Linked DNA regions of Homo sapiens: region 2 is linked to region 1. Evidence: promoter capture Hi-C in 16 types of primary human blood cells and fetal thymus (Javierre and others, 2016). All regions are on one chromosome and are shown on one strand. The core of a region is centred on a gene start or on the middle of the fragment in contact, and the rest is flanking DNA. Distances in the headings are between cores, read along the strand shown.

What was found. The method cuts DNA at HindIII sites, captures the fragments that hold promoters and counts their contacts. A CHiCAGO score of 5 or more calls a contact.
Region 2: a fragment that was not itself captured here is called in contact with the fragment with the promoter of KRABD5 in region 1 in 1 of 17 cell types (neutrophils); the score reaches 5.2 in neutrophils.

What each region holds. Positions count from the first base shown.
Region 1 is chr16:31,711,373-31,715,807 of GRCh38, forward strand. KRABD5 (KRAB domain containing 5) reads left to right here and starts at 1,872. Exons shown (of 5, transcript NM_001130913.2): 1 at 1,872-2,063. The coding sequence starts at 2,061. RefSeq lists enhancers at 2,039-2,158, 3,283-3,332 and a silencer at 2,249-2,308. The HindIII fragment of the contact is 15,701 bases long and covers 1-4,435 here.
Region 2 is chr16:31,667,250-31,671,385 of GRCh38, forward strand. No RefSeq gene overlaps it. Among named protein-coding and RNA genes, the nearest start is that of KRABD5, 44 kb to the right of the region's middle. The HindIII fragment of the contact is 1,104 bases long and covers 1,213-2,316 here.

The sequences.
Region 1 (4,435 bases), core at 622-3,121:
CCCCAGATGTCCCTGTGCCCAGCCCTGGCCTGTCTGCCCTCAGGCCCAGCAGGAGGCGCTACCACAGGCTCTGACTGGCGTCCCTACTCCCTGTACCCCAGATGGACAGAACCTTCGGGTCTACAGTCGGAATATATCATTCTCCCCATTTTAACCTGAGCTGCCTGACACACGGAGGGTGTGCTGGGTAAGGGGCCTAGGGAGCCAGGGTTGAATCATGGATCCTGGGGAAAGGTTGCAGACACAGGAAGGGTTGTCACCTCTCTGTGGAGCCCTGCTGCTTACCACACAGCACCTTCTGCAGAGACTAGCTCTGAGGGTGGCAGGGGACCCCACAGGCCATGGCCACTCCCTCTCTGCACCTGTCCGTGCCTGCTGTGGAAGCCTGGACTGGGGGAGGAGATTGCTACCCTGTGAGCCTGAGGGAGCCACGTCCAGCTGTGACCTCTACCTGGGGCTTTACAGAGAGTTGTTTATGGGTAACAGACACCTTGTTTCAGAGGGAATGGGCATGAGCTGGCAAGTGAAGCACCCCCACAGCTTATCAGGAACTTTTTCTCATTTTTAAACCATCATGTCTTCATTTCACATTGGAATAAAGTGAGGTTTTGGAACCTGCTGCCCCAGTCTCTGGATTGTGAGGGCTGTTGTCAAACAGGTTACTAGGAGAGGAATATGTATAAATTAGCTCAAATTCAAGGTTATGCTTGTAATGTCACCTGAGTGGGAAGTAAGAGGGTGGAGTCACAGGCACTCAGCTGGGATTTACCTGGCCTCGTCACTAGACTAATGGGATTGTGGCACAGGTGAACATCCCGTCATTGGAGAAGAAAGGCTGGATTGAAGGCCAGGTGGGGGAGGGGTGCTAGGCTGTGGGGTCAGGCCCTGGGCATGCTGGACCTGTTAGGTCACTGAACATCTGACTGGGCACCTGCCCAGATTTGTCCCTTCAGTTGAGGTGGGATTGGCAGCACTCCCCAGAAGGCGTGCAGTGCCGGGAGAGTGGAGGAGGGTCTGACGTTTGCTATCCTGTGGTAGGTTTTAGAGCTAACTAGATGCTTGTGGAGAGCTAATGACATGGGAAGAAGGCAGCCCACCTTGATGGACCGGAGGGTTAGAGCCTGCGATGTGAGAAGCGGGTGTGTGGAGGTGGCCTGTCTACAAGAGGGCAAGTTTAAGGCCCATTGCAGTGGCACTATCTCAGCTCACTGCAGCTGGTGGCTGCCAGGCCATCCCTCTCCAGAGCAGGGAGGCCCTCAGCCTTATGTATAATTGAATGCCTTTTGGGATGCTTGGATAGTCCTTTATGTCTTGGAAATTCAGAAAAGAAAAAAAAAATTACAATCCTCCTGTCTGTTAGTTTCCCTGAGCCAACTGGATAAAAGATGTCCCTGACCCCAAGATTTTAAGTGACACCCAAGGGAAGCCACCGTTACCTTGGCTGTTGAAGCCTCCTGCATGCTCCCCAAAAACCCCAGCAGTTTCCTCTGCAGTCCCACAGTTATGTCCTGAGCAGTGGGGTACCGTGTGATGAGAGGTGCTAAGGATGGGATGAGGGTCTTTCCTGTGTTATTAGAACGGTTAAAAAGTTGTTTTAAAGGTGCCCAAATGCCCTCCTTCTTAAACTTAATTAGCTAATAAGATGCCTTATACAAGCAAAACCAGGTACGGGAAAGCAAGTGCATTTCAAGTCCAAGCTCACCCCTTAAATTAGCTGTAATACCCTCAGCAGGTGGCCCCACCTCAATGAGCCTGTCTCCCATTCAAAAAGCAGAACGAGTGAGAGGGCGGGGCCTGGAGCTTTACCCAATCAGTGGCGTCGGAGTGGAAATCCTCCAATCGGGAGTAGCCGGAGAGCAGGGGCGGCTTCCGGGATTTGGCGGTGGCCTTTGTTGGCTGCAGTAAGAGCTCAGTCTCTTCACCAGGGGCTCCCAGTCCTTCCATCTGGGAGGCCAAGGCGGCTTCGCGTTCTGAGAATAGACAGAACCTCTGTTACTCTGTGACCGGCAGGCACCGGGAGATCCGTAGCTCAGACGCCAGGACATCCCGGAAGCTGGGAAATGGTGAATGTGCCAGGTCGGGGGTCCCCAGAAGAGGGAGAGGGGCGGTCGGAAGCGGCGGGAACCCTCTTTGAGGTTAGCTTCGGGGTCTGGGCCCTGAGTCCCCGCGGACGCAACTCGGCCCTTGGTCCCCTCCGCCGCAAGATGGCGGCCGGGCCGGCAGCCGGGACCCCGCGCGTCCGGTCCCCTCCCGACCCCGCAGAGCGACCTCTGCCATGGCCGGAGCCGTCTTTGGGTCGCCGCAGCCCGGCGTCTCCCGAGATTGTGCGGTGAGAACGTGAGGGTCTTAGGGGAAATCCCGGGTCGGCGTGTGATTCGTGTGTGGGAAGATACTGTGCCCCGTGGTGTCCCAGTCTCCTTTTTCCTCTTACAAATTAAGGGGAGTCACCCTTAAAGCGTTAAAGGGTTGATTTAGGTAAACAGCGATTGGTGAAATGGGAAGCCTGCCGCCGTGGTTTGTGGTTTAGGGTCCTCTGGAGCAGCGATTTCAAAATCCCAGGGCTCAGCTTAGGAATGCTGCTGGGGAAAAGAAATAGGGACAATCTCTCTTCCACTTTGGCTGTAGAAAACGAATACATTTCCACAGAAAGTGTGCTAGATTAATTGGTCAATTACAAACATTCATTAAAATATCAGGTCCTCTCTTTTGCAGTGGAGGATTTGTGACAGTGGATATCTGTGTTCCATATTCTACTGCTATCTGGATGTCCGACTTTAATGCCAAATGTTATGAGACAGGACTTGGCACCTCCTAGAAGTGTTCACATATACTAAATGATCTGCTATTATGGAAATAATTAAATGACATGTTTCTTGCTCGAAAGAGGTATTTTGGCCTTACCTGTTGAAGTATAAAGTGTAAGTGCCTTACAGTTTCCTTCCTTTCTATAAAAACTGTTTTGAGTGATTTTGCTATTTTCCTGAAACCTGTTAGGTCACTGAACATCTGACTGGCTGGGCACCTGCTCCTGTCCCTTCAGTTGAGGTAGGATTGGCAGCACTCCCCAGAAGGCGTGCAGTGCCAGGAGAGTGGAGGAAGGTCTGACGTTTGCTATCCTGGGGTAGGTTTTAGAGCTCGCTAGATGCTTGTGGAGAGCTGATGAGATGGGAAGAAGGCACCCCACCTCGATGGACCTGAAAGAGAGAGCCTGCGAATTGAGAAGCGGGTGTGTGGAATAACCCTGACTAGGCATAGAAGACCTCAGTCTTATTTGAGCCTGCAAAAGGAGGTCATTGAAGGCCCAGTTAGTTCTTCCTGGGGAGCGCCCCCTTCAGGTGTCCCTGAGGTTCACAGCAGCCATGGAGGGAGCCCTTTGTTACTGGGAGAAGCTGCAGAGTTCTGGAAAGCAGGGGATTCACAGGCGGATGTGGTCGAGGTTGGGCTGGAAGGGAGATTGGGAAGCTCTTTCTGAGGGTGGAATTGTTAGTGTCCTGGGGCTGTTTCTTGACTTGGTCAAATAAAACATCTGGATATAGGTAAGAAGTGCCTTAATTGTAAAGGAGTATTGCAAGAGGAGGAAAGCACCAACTGTAAGATATTTGTGGATCTCACAGTTGAAGCAGAAAAGGCCTTTCTTTCATAGGGAGGAGCAAACATGATTCAAGGTGGGAGGGGAAGGGCACGACTCCTGGACTAAATCAGATCCCTGATCAGAGAATGTTTCACCCTGAAGTCAGCCTGTTCTTAGGAGGGGCATAAAGAGGGGTTGAATGTTGACTCAGGCTGTGGGTGGGACAAACCTCAGGCACCTTGGAGAAGGGGAGAAATTTAAGCAACTTTGGTTAACACATATTTTGTTTTGACCATCGAAGATAAAACTCTTTATTTAATTGCTTATGAGGGGGAAAAAAAGGAAATAGGAGAGTTTGTGGCTTTGTGATACCTAAAACAGGGAGCATCATCTAAGTCATAACAGGAAGAAGATTCTTTGCAGTAAGCTGCTCTTGAAGAACAAAAAGGAAGGGGGATTTCTTTCATCACAGCTGCTTCCCAGGGTTAACTACCTACTCCATCTTTTCCCCACTCCTTTCTCTTGCCCTACACATCTCTTCCATTAGGCTGAGTTGTATCTTTTATAATAAACTGGTCAATGCAATTACAGTCTTTGCTGAGTTCTGTGAATCCTTGTATAAAATTAATGAACTTGAGTAGGGTATTATGGGAGGCCCTAACTTACAGGCAGTAGCTCAGAAGTATAGATGGCCCCTGGGGAATTGTGACTGGCATCTGTAGAGGGGCAGTGTTGTGGCACTGAACTCTGAACTTGTGGGGTCTGTGCTGCCTCTGGGTGCTGTCAGAATTGAGTTGTTGGACAACCAGTTGGTGTTGGAGAATTGGCTGGTGTTCAGCAAACTCCACACAGTGTCATAAAAAA
Region 2 (4,136 bases), core at 515-3,014, 44 kb before region 1:
TTCAAATGCAATGTGATTGGAATACATCTGACTTTTGCATTATTCCTCATAGTTACAATGAAACACAACGCCAATGGGAAAGAAATAAATGCCATCTAGAGGGTAGAGAGGAAAATCTCTCCCTTGATATTGTAAAACTGAAAGAGCAGGTTTTTGAAGCCTCTCAGGCTCACTTAACCCTGCTCTCTGGAACTGATATTTTAAGCAAGGCAGCTGATGGGTTGTCTGCAATCAATCCTCTTAAATGGATTAAGACCATTGGAAACGCTACACCTGTAAACCTTGTTCTAATAATTATGTGCTTGTGCTGTCTCGTTTCAGTCTACAGATGCAGAAGCCACCTCTGGAGAGAAAGCCACCGAGTGATCAAACCCAACACCAGGTCATGGGGGCTATGAAGTCCGGCGGAGTCAAAGGAATTAGACAAGACACATTAAGAGTACATAGGGTGAGTCCAGGGGGCCAAGAACAAGCCGAGAACAAGCAATGATAGCTGTGGCAGTTTTGCAGAACAAAAAAGAGAGACATGTTGGCAGAAGATCTGAGGCAGGGCTCGCTTGTCTGACATAATGTAAACGAGTCTTGGAACATGTCCTGGGTCCAGGGTCTAAAACCCCTTGTGGCCTATGGAACACCAAGCTCTGTGCCAAAGGGTGGAAGGCTGCCCTGCCACACTACAATCTAAGCCCAGGGCATAACACCCCTTGTGGCTTGGAGAGAACCCAGGGCTCAGGGCGTAAAACCCCTTGTAGCCTCTGGAATGTGTCCAGACTCGCTGACCCCTTGCTCCTTGATCTCCCAAGATCATAAATTGATTATATCTTGCATCAAAAGAACCTGTTCTCCCTTATTTCAAGTAGCAGAGCATATGCTAAAGCATCACAGTTACGCTTGATGCACTGTTACCTTTCTACCCCCACGTCCTCACGTCCTCACCTGTCTACATCTGCACATCCTCACCACCTGCTTCTTTGTTTGATTACCAATAAATAGTCCCAGAGCTCGGGGCCTTCACTGCCTCCATATGCTAGCATTGGCCCCCTGGACCCACCCTATGTACTCTTAATTTGTTTTGTCTCATTCCTTTGACTCCACCGGACTTCATAGCCCCCATGACCTGGTGTTGGGTTTGATCACCTCAACACCGAGTTTGCAAATATTTTTCCCCATTCCATAGATTGTGCATTAATGCTGTTTCTTGTGCGGTGCAGAAGCTTGTTAGTTTAATTAGGTCCCACTTGTCAATTAGGTCCCGCTTGTCAATTTTTGTTTTTGTTGCAATTGTTTTTGGGGTCTCTGTCATGAAAAGCCTATGTCCAGAATGGTATTTCCTAGGCTTTCTTTTAGGGTTTTTATAGCTTTTGGTTTTATGTTTAAGTCTTTAATCCACCCTGAGTTGATTTTTGTATATGGTGAAATGAAGGGGTTCCATTTCAATCTCATGCCTATAGCTAGCCAATTATCCCAGCACCACTTATTGAATAAGTACTTTTTTCCCCATTGCTTCTAATTGTCAACTCTGTTGAATATCAGATGGTTGTAGGTGTGTGGTTTTATTTTTGGGTTCTCTAACCTGTGTTATTGATCTATGTGTTTGTTTTTATACCAGTACCGTGCTGTTTTGGGTACTGTAGCCTTGTAGTATAGATTGAAGTCAGATAATGTGATGCCTCTCTGTTCTTTTTACTTAGGATTGCTTTGGGTATTTGGGCTTTTTTTTTGTTCCATATGAATTTTAGAATGCTTTTTTCCAATTCTGTAAAAACTGACAGCAGTAGTTTGACAGGAATAGCATTGAATCTGTAAATTCCTTTGGGCAGCATGGCCATTTTGACAATATTGATTCTTCCTATCCGTGAGCGTGGAATGTTTTTCCATTTGTTTGTGCCATCTCTGATTTTTTTCCAGCAGTTTTGTTATTCATGTTGCAGAGATATTTCACCTCCCTGTTTCACTGTATTCCTAGGTAATTTTTCTTTTTTGTGGCTATTGTGAATGGCATTGCATTCTTGATTGGGCTCTCTGCTTGGACGTTATTAGTGTATAGAAATTCTAGTAATTTTTGTACATTGATTTTGTATCCTGAAATTTTACTGAAGTTGTTTATCAATTCTATGAGCATTTGGGCAGAGAATATGAGGTTTTCTAGGTATAGAATCATATCATCAGCAGAAAGAGATACTTTGACTTTCTCTTCCCATTTGGATGCCTTTTATTTCCTTCTCATGCCTAATTGCTCTGGCTGGGACTTCAAGTACTTTTAAATAACAGTGGTGAATGGGCAGCCTGGCTCTGGTTCTCAAGGGGAGTTGGTCAAGCTTTTGCCCCTTCAGTATGATGTTGGCCGTGGGTTTGTCATAGATGACTCATTATTTTGAAATATGTTCCTTCAATGCCTAGTTTGTTGATGGTATTTAACATGAGGAGATATTAAAAGGCTTTTCTGTATCTATTGAGATGATCATGTGGTTTTGTTTTTAGTTCGGTTTATGTGAAGAATCATATTTGTTGATATGCATATGTTGAATCAACCTTGCATCTGAGGAATGAAACTTGCCCGATCATGGATAATTTACTTTTTGATCTGCTGCTGGATTTCATTTACTAGTATTTTATGAATATTTTACATCTATGTTCATCAGGGATATTGGCCTGAAGTTTTTTTGTAATTTTTGATTATGCCTCCACCGGGTTTTGGTGTCATGATGTTGCTGGCCTCATAGAATGAGTTAAGGATGAATCGTTCCTCCTCAAATTTTTGGAATTGTTTTAGTAGGATTGGTACCAGCTCTTCTTTATATGCTTGGTAGAATTTGGCTGTGAATTTGTCTGGTCCAGGGCTTTTCCTGGTTGGTAGGTTTTCTATTACTGATTCCCTTTTGGAAGTTATTATTGGTCTGTTCAGGTATTCAACATTTTCCTGGTTCAATCTCAGGAGGTTGTATGTTTCCAGGAATTTATCCATTTCTTCTGTTTTCTGGTTTGTGTGCATTCATAGTAGTCTCTGAGGGTTTTTTAAAAATATTTTTGTGAAGTTAATGGCAATGTTACCATTGTTATACTAATTGTGTTTGTTTGGATTTTTTCTTTTTGTTTATTAGTCTAGCTAGTGCTCCCTCAATATTATTTATTCTTTTAATGAACCAATTTTTTGTTTCATTGATTTTTTGTATGGATTTTCACATCTCAATTTCATTCAGTTTATCTCTGATTTTGGTTATTTCTTTTCTTTTGCTAGCTCTGGGGTTGGGTTACTCTTGTTTTTTAGTTCTTCCAGATGTGATGTTAGGTTGTGAATTTGAGAGCTTTCTGACTTTTTGATGTAAGGATTTAGTGTTATAAACTTTCCTCTTAACAGCACTTTACGTGTGTCCCAGTTTTCATTTGTTTCAAATAATTTCTTGATTTCTGCTTTAATTTCATTTTTTACTGAAAAGTCATTCAGGAGCAGGTAATTTTCATGTAATTGTATGGTTTTGAGAGATCTTCTTGGTATTGATTTCTATTTTATTGCACTGTGGTTGGTATGATTTGGGGTTTTTTGAACTCATTGAGAATTGTTTTATGGGTAAGGGTGTGATCAATCTTTGAGTATGTGCTATGTGCTGATGAGAATAATGTATATTCTGTTGTTGTTGCTGGGTGGAGTGTTCTATAGAGGTCTATTAGGTCCATTTGGTCATGTTTCAAGTCTAGATCCTGAATATCTTTGTTAGTTTTCTGCCTTGATGATCTTTCTAACATTGTCTGCAGGGTGTTGAAGTCTTACAATTATTGTGTGGTTATTTAAGTCTCTTCATACATCTATAAGAACTTGTTTTATGAATCTAGGTTTTCCAGTGTTGGATGTGTGTATATTTAGGATAGTTAAGTCTTCTTGTTTAACTTAATGCTTTATCATTATGTAATGTCCCTGTCTTTTTATTGTTGTTGGTTTAAAGTCTGTTTTGTTTGAAATAAGGACAGCAGCCCTTGCTCTTTTGTTTTCTGTTTGCTTGATAGATCTCTCTCCATCCCTTTACTTTGAGCCTATGGGTATCATTGCATGTGAGGTGGGTCTCTTGAAGACAGCATACAGTTGAGCCTTGCTTTTTTATTCAACTTGCCACTCTGTGCCTTTTGAGTGAGGCATTTAG